Linked DNA regions of Homo sapiens: all the other regions are linked to region 1. The links are contacts of gene promoters, found by promoter capture Hi-C in human tissues and cell types (Jung and others, 2019). All regions are on one chromosome and are shown on one strand. Each heading gives the region's core, a stretch centred on a gene start or on the middle of the fragment in contact. The rest is flanking DNA. Distances are from core to core; before and after follow the strand shown. Region 1 holds the start of CACNB4 (calcium voltage-gated channel auxiliary subunit beta 4). Region 2 overlaps STAM2 (signal transducing adaptor molecule 2). Region 3 overlaps STAM2 (signal transducing adaptor molecule 2).

Evidence for each region. Contacts are between HindIII fragments. The study calls those that stand out against the background at their distance.
Region 2: a fragment that was not itself captured here is called in contact with the fragment with the promoter of CACNB4 in region 1 in 1 of the 25 tissues and cell types used here (lymphoblastoid cells).
Region 3: a contact is called between a fragment that was not itself captured here and the fragment with the promoter of CACNB4 in region 1, in 1 of the 25 tissues and cell types used here (liver).

The regions. Positions count from the first base shown.
Region 1 is chr2:152,096,785-152,101,711 of GRCh38, forward strand. It overlaps CACNB4 (calcium voltage-gated channel auxiliary subunit beta 4), which reads right to left and starts at 2,260. Exons shown (of 14, transcript NM_000726.5): 1 at 2,165-2,260; 2 at 1,546-1,629. The coding sequence starts at 2,227. RefSeq lists a silencer at 2,169-2,458. The HindIII fragment of the contact is 13,270 bases long and covers 1-4,927 here.
Region 2 is chr2:152,155,213-152,160,139 of GRCh38, forward strand. The region is part of intron 1 of STAM2 (signal transducing adaptor molecule 2); the gene reads right to left. Among named protein-coding and RNA genes, the nearest start is that of STAM2, 18 kb to the right of the region's middle. The HindIII fragment of the contact is 5,894 bases long and covers 1-4,927 here.
Region 3 is chr2:152,131,651-152,136,577 of GRCh38, forward strand. It overlaps STAM2 (signal transducing adaptor molecule 2), which reads right to left. Exons shown (of 14, transcript NM_005843.6): 8 at 3,859-3,953; 9 at 1,752-1,834; 10 at 1,523-1,610; 11 at 464-518. It also overlaps the pseudogene RPL30P2. Among named protein-coding and RNA genes, the nearest start is that of CACNB4, 35 kb to the left of the region's middle. The HindIII fragment of the contact is 5,672 bases long and covers 1-4,927 here.

The DNA.
Region 1 (4,927 bases), core at 1,010-3,509:
TAGAATATTATTTTGTTTGTGCTTGGAAGGAAGAATAAAGCATTAGTGCAGTTATGTAGATGAACTCAAAAGTTTTAGTCAAACAGCTTATGGAAAGAACTGCTGTGTAATTAGTATTTCCAAGAATTTGCAACAATGAAACACCACTAAAAATAGGCACCTACAAAATAAACACCAGCAAGACCTCAAACAGTTGCATAACAGAAAAATGTTTTTAAGATAAACAATATGTTTGCCTTATCAAATACATAATCTAAATACTGCAAAGGGGATAGAATGCACTTTTAGAATGAATTCGGAATCCAAAATGCATTTATTTCCATAATGTACATGCTTAGTGCTCGCTGAATTAAATGGTAGTCAAAATTTCCGCTTCTGCAGAAAGTGAAATTCTGCATAATAAATATCATCTAAATATGCTTTATAGACCCTTTTAGGAGAGGTCTGAGTTCAATTTTGATATCAATTCCTCGTTGATATGTTTAAATTGATGATAATCACTAAAGAAACACCAGAGCTGCCATCATAGGTTAGAAAACACATTACACAATACTGAGTGACCTAGAGGGAAAAGAACTTCTCAAGGTCACTCCAGCAGCCCACAGGAAGACCTGGGATAAAAGCCTCTTGGTGCGATGACCAATGTCTTCCTAGGTCACCCGAAACCTAGGACACACCCCGACAATTTCTGTTCCAAAGAAAGATCAAGGTGACTCATTGCATGATCTCTCTAGCACCCAGCAGCCAGGGGTGGTTTCATTAACAGCACATGGACAGTTGGAAAACTGAGGACCAATTTCCTGTGCCAAGGTGAAAGGCACCTAAGCATTGAGCATTACCAGCGATCCGGAGATCCCGAGCACAGACAATTCGCACTAGAACCACGCAGGAGAAAGCAAGCACTAAGAAAACAAACACGAAGTGAAGGCGCACCCAGACCCGGAGCTGAGTGCTGGCCTTCGTTAATTCCTATTTAACCAGATACAGCTGTCTTTCCCTAACTAAGCGAATCCAAGAAGCGGTCCTAAAGTGAGAGTAAACTTTCTGCTCAGTGTCTTTCTTTTGACCGGAGCTTGACGATCTCTCCCAAGATCCAGACAGATAAGAGTATTCAAATTAGGACAAAACAGAAGAAACCACTAAATCTCAACTCGAATCAAACCAGGTCCCCGGCCCCGAGGGGTCTGGTTACTCTAGGTCGAGTTATACGAATTAAAGACATTTCTCCACGCACCAAAGATACAACCAGACATATTTCCAGCTCTTAAATTCAACGTCCCTGACTTAAGCCAGGTCCCCACCGAACTGTCCACACACATGCACAAACTAACTTCCCGGGGCGGTGCGGAGACGCCGGGACGCGAAGACGTCAAGAGCCCAGGCTAGAGGGAGAGGGACTGAGCCCGAGCACCGGCCGAGGCCGGGAAGAGACGCGCGCGGGCTTGACCCGCAGCTCCCGCACGTGTGGGCCACGGCCGGCTCCAGGACCCCCGCGCCGCGCGCTCGGCCTCCTCCCCATCCTGGTCTCCCGCCTCCTTCTCATACCTGTCTGAGGATGAAGCTGGTCGAAGTGGTGCTGCCATCGGATCTTTTCAACCTGCTCCTCCGGGTTGTGGTGCCTCGGGCCACCTGGACTCGACACACGGGGGCCAGAGAGAAGCCGGTGAGGACCGCAGCGCAGAGCGGGGCGACCACCCCCGGCTGGAGTCCGCCTCCGGACCCGCTCCCTGGGGTCCCCTAGAGCCCGCACCCAAGTCTCCTCCGCGACTCCCAAATACAGCCCCCACCCCCACCCACCCACTGCAAGCCTCGACTGCTGAAAAGATGCTCGAGAAGAGCAGCCCGCAAGCACCCACCACATCCATTAACAAAGACTCTCAGGGTGCGGGGTCCGAGTCCCCGGCATCCGCTGGGGGAGGCTGCGGGCTCCGGAGCGGGAGCGCAGAGACCCGAAGGAGGGTGAGGAGGAGGAGGAAGAGAAGGAGGAGAAAGAGGAGGAGCGGGAGGAGAAAGGGACGTGGAGGAGGGGTGGGGGGAGCGGGGCCGCCGACTCCCGGGACTGGGGCCCCGCACGCCCGGCACGAAGGCGGGGCGCGCTAGGGCGGCGGAGGAGGTGTGAGGAAGGAAGAGGAGGAAGAGGAGAAGGGGGAGGAGGGGGCGGTACCTGCGAGGTGGGGGAGTGCGGCCCGTCCGCGGTCCCGTTCTTGGCGTAGGAGGAGGAGGACATCGTTCAGAGCCGCCGCATGGCCAGCCCGTGTGCGGTGGGCGGAGGGGGCTGGCCCCCGAGGCTGGGCTGCGGACGGAGGGGGAGGGCGCAGGACTTCCCCACCCGGCTCCAGGACCCGCGCCGGCGCCCAGGCTCCCTGCCCGCACTTCGGAGAGCGCGGCACCTTAAAGGGACCGAGGCGCTTCCCCCGCGCTCGCGGCGGGGTCCCGGGGAGGGGGCTTCTCGGAAACTCGCCTACCCGAGCGGATTGGGAGAAGCGCTCTCCCACCTAGCAAGCGCTTTACATCAGAGCTTCCAGAGGATGAAGGGAGGGGGAAATCTGGGATGGGGGTGGCAAGATTAAAATAGTCTGCACAGTTTAAAATGAGACAAAGGTGGCACGGTTCATGAATCAGGACTTGGGGACGGAAGCTGGTGCAGTGTGGCGGGAATGGGAAGAACCGAGCGGGTGTGTGTGTGTGTGTTTGCTGCACTGGAATTTTAAAAGGGCAAGAGCAGAGCCACCTTCCGCGACTTCACTCATCAGCCTAATGTGTAAGGCATGGGGTTTTGTGGCTTGCTTTTCGTCCGTGTTTTTGTATTGCTTTGGCAATTCTGTCCTTAGAGCTGCGAGTCACACACATCCAGGCAGCTGTGAGAAACCCAGCCAGCCTGAGTCTGACGGGAGATGCTGCCCCGCCAAAGACCAGTATGTCCTACGGAGTTTTGAAGGTCATGTTAGACCTGCTAAGAAGCAAGAGTTGGTCACTGTGCCTCCCATTTCTATGCGAATGGATATTTTCAAGGGGGAGAAACTCATCCTTGCAACCATACACAACGTTTGCCATTGGTTTCCTCCTGTAAATACATACAAGAGATTAATTTGTGATCAAATTAAAAGAGAGGGATTGCGGAAAGGAAGAATAAGTGCGAGGTATTGACAGAGGAATAAGAAGAGGGAAGAAAAGTATATGCAAATTCAAAAATAAAGAGACTCCGTTTAAATTAAAATATACTTACTATCTCAAATCGCTAAATCAGCTTGCATTCTAGGACTTTATGTTTATGGACACAACTACCATGCTTGTTTTAATAATTGCTTGGCTTTATTGAGGTCCTGGTTATATCTTACCATCCACCAGACACTTCCTTTCCATTCCTAATCCCTTCACTTAATCCAAACCTCTGTAACAATCTTATAACTAATGTCCTTGCCTCCAGGCTTCCTGGTGCATGTGCACGTATGCACATGCACACATACACACGCAGAGATTTCATTCCATCTACACACTACAGGCAAAACCATTTTCCTAAAATATCTTGCCCAAGTCACTCTTCTCTAAGATAAAGTCCAAACTCCATGGTCCAACAACTCAGCCTCTCCTGCATTTCTGATCACTCTCCATCTCATTTCTCCATCTTGATCTCTCTATACAAACCTTCCAGCAAGCAGGCAGGTCTAGTCATCAATACCCAAGTATTCCAAATACAATCACATTTGAGCTCTTCTGCTTTGGAATGCCTCCTTGGAATATGCCCTCCCAACAACCTACACACCCGGCTGAATCCTACCTTTCTTCTAAATGGGACTCAGCTCACGCTTCCTCCACAGAAATCCTATCTGACTACTCCAGTCCCACATAATTCTTGTGCTTCTGAAAAACTGGAGCATGTATTCTCTGGGCACTTAGAATAGGCTGCCTTAGCTTATTAGTTTGTTAGTTCTGTTTTTGTGAAAATCTCCTAATTTTCAGAATTTTTAGCGGTTTATCTTCTATTCCTATACCTTCCATATAGTAGATACTCCATGAATTTATGGGGAATGGAGGTCTAACCATGCAGGACTCCCTACTTTAGTTACTGTCAACCCAATCCGTATTTAGTTCTGAGCCATTTTCATAGTTGATACGTGTGTGCATATTAAATTACTATGTGAGCACTGGACTTTGAATTGTGTGGTTTTCCACTGTCCACATTCTCACTGACTTTAAGTTATTGAAACAGAACCCACAGAGGCATAACAACATGAGAAGCCCTGTACACCCAGCTCAAAGCAAAACTGGTGAAAATTATATGTTTTATATATAAGCAACCATTTAAATTTCTAAAAATGGTCCTAAAGGTGCACAACAAATGAAGGAACATTTATTCAAGAAAACCTACTGAAACCCAGTAAGAAAAGTGAGCTTGAGGTATTTGAACCAAGACCTACTCACTCTTTTCATGCTTCCAACTCAGAGAGGGCTCCACGCTATACTGGTGCAGCCAAGAACACAGGGCTCCCTCACCCTTCAGCTCCCAGTTGGAGGGTCAGCTTCCTAGGAGGGACAAAACATCAGCATTTGTCATCCTCCCCGCAGCTACCTGTTGTTGAGACTAAGTTCTAAGCAAGTATGGCAGAGGTGGGGGCTCCCTTCTTCTGCCCAGTTGTACCTGGAGGCTGTACCTTGGCCACAGCAGCACTGAGTGTACTTGGGCCTTGATCACCTTTGCTTCTGGCTCATCGAGAAAGAAGTCAGGAAACGTGGGACTGCTTTGAGTGCTTCTGCCAGAAACATTCAGCATCTAACATGGTGATGTCACTCAGAGAGAGGTGCATCATTGTCCCTACCTCTGACACCAGAGTGGAAAAAATGATGTTGAACCCTGACCTTACATCAAGGATCCCCAACCCCCAGGCCACAGACTAGTACCAGTCTGTGGCCTGTTAGGAACTGGGCC
Region 2 (4,927 bases), core at 1,213-3,712, 59 kb after region 1:
GAGTGAATGAATGATGTTGGTTGCTCCTCCACATCCCATTAGCCTGGTACAATGTGTAAGGTGGGAAACAACAGCAGAGCTTTTGAGTACACGAACTAAAAGGGCTTTAACTCTGATGCCCATCTGTGGACATAGTTTGGCTGATGTGTGCAAAGTTCTGGACCAACCAAAGCTTCACTGCTGAGCATACAAATATTCAACGGGCTACATAGGATCAAACTTCAATAGCAACACCACATGGCAACAAAACGTAACAGCACTAGTGAGCTTATGAAGTTCTAGTTCTCCTCTTGTTTACTGAAGAGAAGTAACTCTCCGTTTGGGAGTCTCAACAAGGAGACAGGGTAAGTGGGGAAGGCAATGCTTCAAAAGCTTCTTAGATAGGTAACTAACTTTATATACTAAGTCTGAAAAGCAAATCATATATATTACAGCTTCATGCTAATCTTTCCTGTTTGTTTATGATGCAGTTTTTGCTATAACAGAATCTACCATTTTTCTTTTTATAGTGTCATTTAGCATACTGTTTGAATTACCTGAAGATTAAATATCTACCCACATTCTTTTCTGTATATTATTCCCCTTTCACATGTAAATCTTTAATGTATTTAGAACTTCATTTAGTGTATCTGGAACCTCACACGTGGTGTGAGGCAGGAACAGAAAAATATTTTTACGAATTTTTTGTCAGTTCTATTATTTAAGAATCTATCCTTTCTTCACTGATTTGAGGAGCCAGTATCATCAATTATCAAATTTTATGAGTATGGATATGTATGAGTACAAAGACACACACATAATCACGTGAATCTGATTTTAGACCATCTAATAACCTACCTAGTCCAGCTAGAACTCAACTTTTCATGATATTTTTCCAATTCTGGTCATGTAATACATTAAATATGAAGCCTATCTCATGCCTTCTAAAGCCGCCCAACAATTTTTAAAATATCTAATTAGACTATTGTTTATTTAATTTCCATAGAAAATGGGAAATTCCTGATTTGAATACTCTATCAAGCATAGTTTAGTCTCTACAAATATAAGACTCACAATTACTCTTTTTAAAAATATAAAATCTGAAGACTTCATAATGGCCTGCCAAAAAGGACTTTGTTTTTCAAGGGAGCTAAATAACATTTAAATTATGCACTTAGGAGTATTTTAAACCCCTGGAAAATTTTAAATATTATAATTAAGAAACCATTCTTTTATAGCATGTCACTTTGCCCAATGTTGGGGCCCTATATCACATTATTCTGTGTCAAACGCATAGAGAGGTAGAAAATTAAAAGAGCCCTCCTGGGGCCTAAATGCTAAATCGCCGGCATTTGGTGGGTGTAAGTCATAACATTTCATCACCAGGCTTTGATTACTGTATAAAAAGAGCCTCAAATACAATGTGAAATAGCTTAGAAAGATTCTAACAATATGATAAAGAATAATTCCATCAATATCTACCTACAAGGAACAAAAAGGCTCCCCCCCTTACAGTCATTATGTTCAAAGTACAGCTTTAAAAAGAATCTAGCTCTACCCATAAAACTTTTAATAAAATAGGCTCTATCAGTAATAAACAACTTAACTACATAAAATAAGAATGCTGCAAGAAAACTTTAAAGCTCCTCCTATTATGTTTGCAAATAAAAATTCATGACTAGTCTTCTGCTTCCAAACATGATAGAATATCTGGTACCAGACTTGCGATCCTACCAAAAACAATGATAAAACAGGCCAAAATCAATGAGGCAACTGTTTTCAGGGAATGAATAGCAGGCAGAGCAGGTCCCAGATCTTTGAGGGAAGGGAAATATGTAGTGAGCCTCACGATGGCCTCAGCTTTCTGCCTTGGAATACTTTCCCATCCAGCACAAGGAGGACTAGCCCAAGTAGAAGAGGACTAGCCCAAGTAGAGAAGGACTAGCCCAAGAAGAGCGAGAGATGGCGACCAGGTTTCTAAGCACAGTGATTAACCAGAGGCCCTTGGCCAAAGGCTGGGCTACACAAACACACTTGAGATGAGTCTCTATGGGGTCTAGCAGAGATTACCTGCTATGGGGCTGAAAGGTCAAGCAGCACTGGGAGTCATCCTCCCTATTATGCATGGAATGTTTGTGTTCCTCCCAAAATTCTTATGTTGAAGCCGTAATCCCCAGTGTGGCTGTATTTGCAGATGAGGCCTCTAAGGAAGTAATTGTTGTTAAATGAGGACAAAAGGATGGGACCCTGATCCAATAGGATTAGTGTCCTTTTAAGAAGATACACCAGAGAGCTAGCACTCTCTTTGTGTACACACAGCAAGGAAAAGCCATATGAGGGCACAGCAATAAGGGGGCTGTATATAACCCAAGGGGTGAGCTCTAACCAGACAGCACCTCTGCTGGCACTTTGATCTTGGACTTGCAGGCCCCAGAACTGTGAGAAAATAAATTTCTGTTGCATAAGCTACCTAGTCTATGGTATTGTTATGGCAGCCCAAGCAGGCTCATTAACACTGTCCAAACAAAGCAAGAGAACACTTCATGCATTTAGTTGAAAATCCAAAAAGGGCACACCTTAGGAGGAAAAGCCCTCTAGAATTTAGTTCAAAACCAAAATAGGCCTCCCTCACAAAGAATAAAACCAAGCCTGTCAAAACGTAAAAGATCCCCCCAATAATATTACAACCTGACAGAACAAAACTCAACACCATTTAAAGGAAGACAATGTAATTTAGCCTCCCTACAAAGAATAATCACAATGTCCACCATAATATAAAAAATTACTAAATAAGCAAACAAGTGTCCCAAAATCAAGATTAGTCAATAAAAATAGATGTCAGCATAACCCAAATGTTAGATTTGGCAAGAAAGAACTTTAGAGACATTATTATATTTTCAAGAATGCAAACATTGGTGAATGCTCAGCAGAGAAATGAAAACTATAAAAATGGAATGTCTGAACTGAAAAGTACAATATCTCAATTTAAAAAGTCATTAAATGGGCTGGGCGTGGTGGCTTATACCTGTAATCCCAGCACTTTGGGAAGCCAAGGGGGGTGGATCACGAGGTCAAGAGATCCGAGACCATCTGGCCAACATGGTGAAGCCCCGTTTCCACTAAAAATACAAAAAATTAGCTGGGTGTGGTGGTGGGCGTCTATAGTCCCAGCTACTCAGGAGGCTGAGGCAGGAGAATCACTTGAACCTAGGAAGCGGAGGTTGCAGTGAGCCAAGATTACATCACTACACTCCAACCTGGGCGACAGAGCAAGATTCCATCTCAAAAAAAAAATAATAATAATTGTAATACCCGATCACGTGGAAACTTAACAATCAGGACATGTGGATAATTTAGAGTAAACAGAAGGCAACATAAAAATGTATTATGATTAAGATATTACATATTAATACCTTTGGACATGACTAAAGCAATTTAGAACTTTGTCTTAGTCTGTTTTACACTGCTATTGAACAGAATACCTGAAACTGGGTAGTTCGTAAAGAACAGAAATTTATTTCTCACAGTTCTGGAGGCTGGAAAATCGAAGATCAAAGCACTGGCATCTGGTCAGGGCCTTCTTACTGTGTCCTTACATGGCAGAAGGTAGAAGGACAAGGGAGAGTGAACCCACCCCTGTAAGCCCTTTTTATTGCAGCATTAATCCATTCACGAAGGAGGTACTCTCATGACGTAAACACTTCCCAAAAGTCCCCATCCCCCAATACTGTTGCATTGGGGACTGTCTCCAACTCGTAAATTTTGGGGGATACATTCTGACCATAGCAATCTTAGGAAAAAAAATTGCCTTTTATCTATTAATAGGAGGAAAAAAAACCTCAATTGCTTCTACACCTTAAAATTGCAGTATAAGAACCAAGAAAAGCTAGCCAAAAAAAAACCATATATATATATATATACACACACAGATATATATAATTTTTTTTCTAAAGCAGAAACAAGAAGCTGGGCACCATGGTGGTGCACACCTGTAGTCCCCACTACTTGAGAGGCTGGGGTGGGAGGATTCCTTGTGCCCAGGAGTTTAAAGCTGCAGTAAGCTATGATCAAGCCACTACACTCCACCCACACCCTGGGTGACAGGGTGAAACACTTGTCTCTAAAACAAAAAAAGAAAAGAAAAAGGAAAAAGAAAAAAACCAGAAAATGAAAAACAAGTAAATGAGTAGAATTAATTTGCATACATTGCAGGAAACCACAATGATAGCTTTTACTAAAGATAGAAACATTCTTTCTTTGGACTAATTCATTAAAAAACTAAATTCTTCAAAAATGTAGAAAAGCCACTTTTTTTCTAGTCTATGAATAAATTGTATATATTTAGACTATTAAAATCATTATATAGAGCCTAATCCTCTATCATCTCCTGAGCGTCCCTCATGAGTGATCACTTCTGAGTCCTCCCGCATGGAGAGCTCACCCACTGGGGGCATATTTTTCCCATTGGAAAAGTATGGTTATTGAAAGTTTTCCTCGTTTTTAAAAGAACAGGATTGCTCCCTCTCCCTCTCCCTCTCCCCACAGTCTCCCTCTCCCTCTCTTTCCACGGTCTCCCTCTGATGACGAGCCAAAGCTGGACTGTACTGCCGCCATCTCTGCTCACTGCAACCTCCCTGCCTCATTCTCCTGCCTCAGCCTGCCCAGTGCCTGCGATTGCAGGCGCGCGCCGCCACGCCTGACTGGTTTTCCTATTTTTTTGGTGGAGACGGGGTTTCGCTGTGTTGGCCGGGCTGGTCTCCAGCTCCTAACCGCGAGTGATCTGCCAGCCTCGGCCTCCCGAGGTGCCAGGATTGCAGACGGAGGCTCCTTCACTCAGTGCTCAATGGTGCCCAGGCTGGAGTGCAGTGGCGTGATCTCGGCTGGCTACAACCTCCACCTCCCAGCCGCCTGCCTTGGCCTCCCAAAGTGCCAAGATTGCAGCCTCTGC
Region 3 (4,927 bases), core at 1,321-3,820, 35 kb after region 1:
AAGATGATCAGAAAAGGCAAAGCAAAATTGGTCATCCTCACTAAAACTGTCCAGCTTTGAGGAAATCTGAAATAGAGTGCTATACAATGTTGGCCAAAACTGCTGTCCATCACTACAGTGGCAATGATGGGCACGGCATGCAGAAAATACTAGAGAGTAGGCACACTGGCTATCACTGATCCAGGCAGTTCTAATATCACTAGAAGCATGCTAGAACAGACTGGTTAAAAGTAAGCCATGCAAAATTTTTATTTAATAAAACTTGTCAGAGCTTGTTTTTTAGAAAAACAAAAACAAGATAAAAAGCACCACCTTGCTATAAATTTGTTAAAAGCCTGGGAAACTGAAAAACAATTTCCATGAATTGTACAGTTCCACAAAAACTTTCCCTACTTTACTGTTTGCCAAAACACAAGTGAACCCCCCAAAACTATACTTTTTATTCCTGCACGAAAAATCTCACCTATCAATTTCTTCAAGTTTTTCATCTATCATTGGACCCATCTGTTGGCAGATATCTGTAAATACAAAAATACTTACAAATATAGAAACTTAATCCAGTTTAAGCCAATTTCAACAATTTTTAACAATATAGCACCAATATACAACACTATGCATAATACACACAGATTAAGCTCATGCTAGAGAAAGACTACTATTCAGCACTACTACTACATATTACTATCATGTGACTAAAAGCAAGGTCAACTTTAAAATAAAAACCTCATTATGTTTTCTTGAAACTATTAACTAAGTTGACAGACTGTGAAATCTGGAGTTATCCCAAAGTCTTAAAGACATCTAGAAAACTATGATTAGTTAACTAAAACAAACTTAAGCCACAGTATATAAACTATGTAACCTTTGCCCATCAGATATGAAGATTTTTCATTTACTTAAGACATTTCAAGATTAAACATACTGTGTATTTCCCAATGTGAACACTGACACAATAAAGAGCACAACGCTGTATTCTATATTCATAACCAGATGTTTCTTCTATATAAAGATTTAAGAAGAATTATTTACCAGAGATTCTTATCCCAAAAGATTTTTTTTAAAGCATAAAAAACACGTTTTAATTGTTCTCACATTTCTTAGAGACTAAAAGACACATCAACATGCATCAATTGACTATGTTATGAAGTTAACAATTATCATGTATAATTTTGTCCTTTAAATTCATAATACAAGAACATTAAACAGCAATAAGCATTTTAAACATTTTGACTCAATTTGATGTACTGTTATTTTTAATTCTGTCCTTTTTTGGACTGCAAAAATCTTCAGCCAATTTTACTAGTGGGCTTAAAGAAATACAAATACTTGCTTTATGAAAAGGATTTGCAGGTTTATGACAATGCCTTCCAAGTAATACTTTTACTATTTTACTGTACTAGTCTGTTCCCCACCGGAGATTTCTAACCTCTAGAGGCAAATACAAGGCAGAAGAAACTGAAGACATCATGAATAGCTAAAATATTAAATAATATTAAAATAATATAAAATATTCACTAAGTACCTTCTAAATCCAAAAGGTCTTGGGAGTCTGGTTTTGAATCTGTTGGATCTATACTCTGAAGTACCTGCAGGGCTCTATCCATCTTATCCTAAAAAAGTAACAGGACACTTTTCAAAAACTCAAGAGTTTTAACTTCAGTAAATATGAAATTACTCTTTCCAAGCATTCTCAAAGATAGTACATTTAAATGTCTTGATAGTTTAACTATTAAACAAAAGAGGGACCCTACCTCATCTATATAAACAGGCTCAGGCTCTGATTTCTTAATTTCCTCCACATCATCATCAATTACATTCAATTTGTCCACAGCCGCTATAGAAACAAAGTAATTTTAAGTTCCTCAGCATTTACTTCAGTAATTTTAGTCATTAATTTATAAGTGGCCTATGATTGTCCATAAGAAAAAAAAATAAAAGTCCTTCAAATATTCACCACATTTTATAATCAATATTACATACGTTTATTACATACGTTTGGTCATTTATTTCACAAACATTTATTTAGTACTCATTATGTGCCAGGCATTGTTCTAGGCATTTATACAGACACCGGTGAATAAAACAGACAAGAATCCCTAACCTCTTGGAACTTAAAATTTTAGTGGAACAAGTGTACAATATAAACAGCAGCTGACATTTTAGGCATTTTCCTGAAAACTGAGTGTTACCACTGGGGTGAATAAATATATGACAGCAGACTATTATCTAGCAGATTATTAACTAGCTAATTTCATAGTTACATCTACGAGTTCCTTCTACACTCTTCCCTTCTATTTAAAAAAACTATTTCCTATATGAACAAAAAATAAAACTTATTTTAAGCTAACTTCGATAATAGTTAAAACAACACTAAACACAAAAGTTTTTCATGAAGAGAAGGTTGAAAAAAAACTTACAAATACATAAACCCAGAAAACTATTTAAATGTTCCCTGGAGTATTGCTAGAATGTACCATATTTTAACAAAGTAAATTTTGGTAAAAATAAAACTACAATAAAAACCTATGTAGCCAAACAATTTTAAATCCCAACTGTTAGTCATTTATTTCAAATATTTGGCTAACTTTCAAAGAACAGAAGTCAGCATAACACAAGGATAAACTGAAAATCCACAATATTTTTTCCTCTTAATACTCTCCAGCCTATGTCAAGGAGAAACTGCTATATAGAATCCCCTGAGCATGATCTATAAAGTTATTTTTTAAAGGTATCTCCAATATTCCTATCTACTTAGAGAGTCAGTTAAAAGGAATAAAATTATAAATAATGGCAAAGTACTCTATATTCAAATCAGTGAGTATCAACCTCTCACGACTTCATTTTTCTGAATGTATCACTCTACACATACAAAGACGATGTTACACATGCATAATGCTTTCATTTGAAGTTCTTTCTCCTGAACTGGCAAGGACTAGCACTGATATATCCCTCAGTGAGTCATTGTTAAGGTCAAACTGACTGACTTTAGAATCCTGGCTCAATCACTTACTAGACACATAATCCCTCAGCCTCAGTGTCCTTATCTGTAAGACAGGGCAACAAAAGTAGCTATCTCACAGAACCGTGAGATTGAAATGCAATAGTACAGATGACTTAGCACAATGCCTGACAAATAATGAATGCTCAAAAACCAGTAACTATTTCTGATTACCATCATTAGTACTATTACGAGCTGTTCCTTTACACTCAGATCCCCCCACCTCCCTACCTGAATAACAAATGGAATGCTTTCTCAGCATGGTTGACAATGGCTAAAGTGACTAAAATGGAACTGTCTGTGGCTGCAGACTGACTAAAGTTCAGCAGATCTGAAACAGGAAGCTTAGTGGCTTGATTACATTACTTTGTTGTTATTGTTTCAAGCTCCCTAGGATCAAATCAAGGTGAGGAAAGGTCTAAAATTTAGGAGTACTCCTAACCCCAGTAATCATATTCGGCACTTGCCAACCACAACCTCCCCACACCACTCCCGCTTTGCCTCTGTGGTTCACTGATGAATCAAAACACTCTTTGTACAGAATAGATATGAACTGCCTCTTACACTACATAGTTAGGTTGATTTAAATACCTGCATGGTCACAAATGATTTTATGCCTGACATTTAACTATGTATGCTAACTCTCAGAGGATGTAAAATAAGAGGAAATAATTCTTGGGATTGACACAGGCTAAATTAACCCCTTAATTTGGTTAAAAAGTAGGTTAGATTGTCATGCCTATAAAGAAATGATTTAAAACAAAAGTTAAATGCCAATCTACTTTACATCCAAAACTGAAACATAAAATTTAAGTGAAAAAAACTTAAATAGATCTAATGTCGTCTAAGATTTAACTTACCTGCCTCAGTCTCTATGTTTAAATTAGTTGTTACAAAATTGGATGGGAAAAGTCCTATTCCTCTGTGATTTTCTCCTTTCCACCAATTGGCATCACTAAAAATACAGTGCAAAAAATATCATTTGTTCCCCACATTTTAATACAATAAGCAAAGATGAATTAAAAATTAAATTTAGCCTCCTTTGAATATATCCGTTTACAAGCAGCTATAATTGAGTCATTTTTCTTAAATTTAATAAACGATATTAAAAAGTACAAGTAAAACAAATATCCACATCCCTATATCTAAACTTAGAACCAGCCAGGCGCAGTGGCTCACGCCTATAATCCCAACACTTTGGGAGGCCAAGGTGGACAGATCACCAGAGGTCAGGAGTTTGAGATCAGCCTGTCCAACATGGTGAAACCTCATCTCTATTAAAAATACAAAAATTAGCCAGGCATGGTGGCACACACCTGTAGTCCCAGCTACTTGGGAGGCTGAGGCAGGAGAATCGCTTAAACCCGGGAGGAGGAGGTTGCAGTGAGCCAAGATGGCACCACTGCACTCCAGCCTGGGTGACACAGCAAGACTCGTCTCAAAAAAAAAAAAAAAAAAAATTAGAACCAATTAGCAATTAATCATTTTTTATTCTGGACTTTAAAAAAGTAAGGCCGGATGCAGTAGGTCATGCCTGTAATCCCAGCACTTTGGGAGGCCGAGGCGAGTGGATCACCTGAGGTCAGGAGTTCGAGACTAGCCTGGCCAACATGGCAAAACCCTGTCTCTATTAAAAATACAAAAATTAGCCGGGTGTGGTGGCAGGTGCCTGTAATCCCAGCAACTTGGGAGGCTGACGCAGGAGAATCGCTTGAACCAAGAAGGCAGAGGTTGCAGTGAGCTGAAATCACGTCACTGCACTCCAGCCTGGAGGATAGAGACTCTGTCTCAAAAAAAAAATAATAAAATTAAAAAATTAAAAAGTAAACAGGAAACACAAGTGCCCTTTAGTAATGACCCCAAATCCCAGCACCACATCCATCTTACCACACTGCCACAATAAAGTTGGTAGCCTTCTTGTCAGTCTGT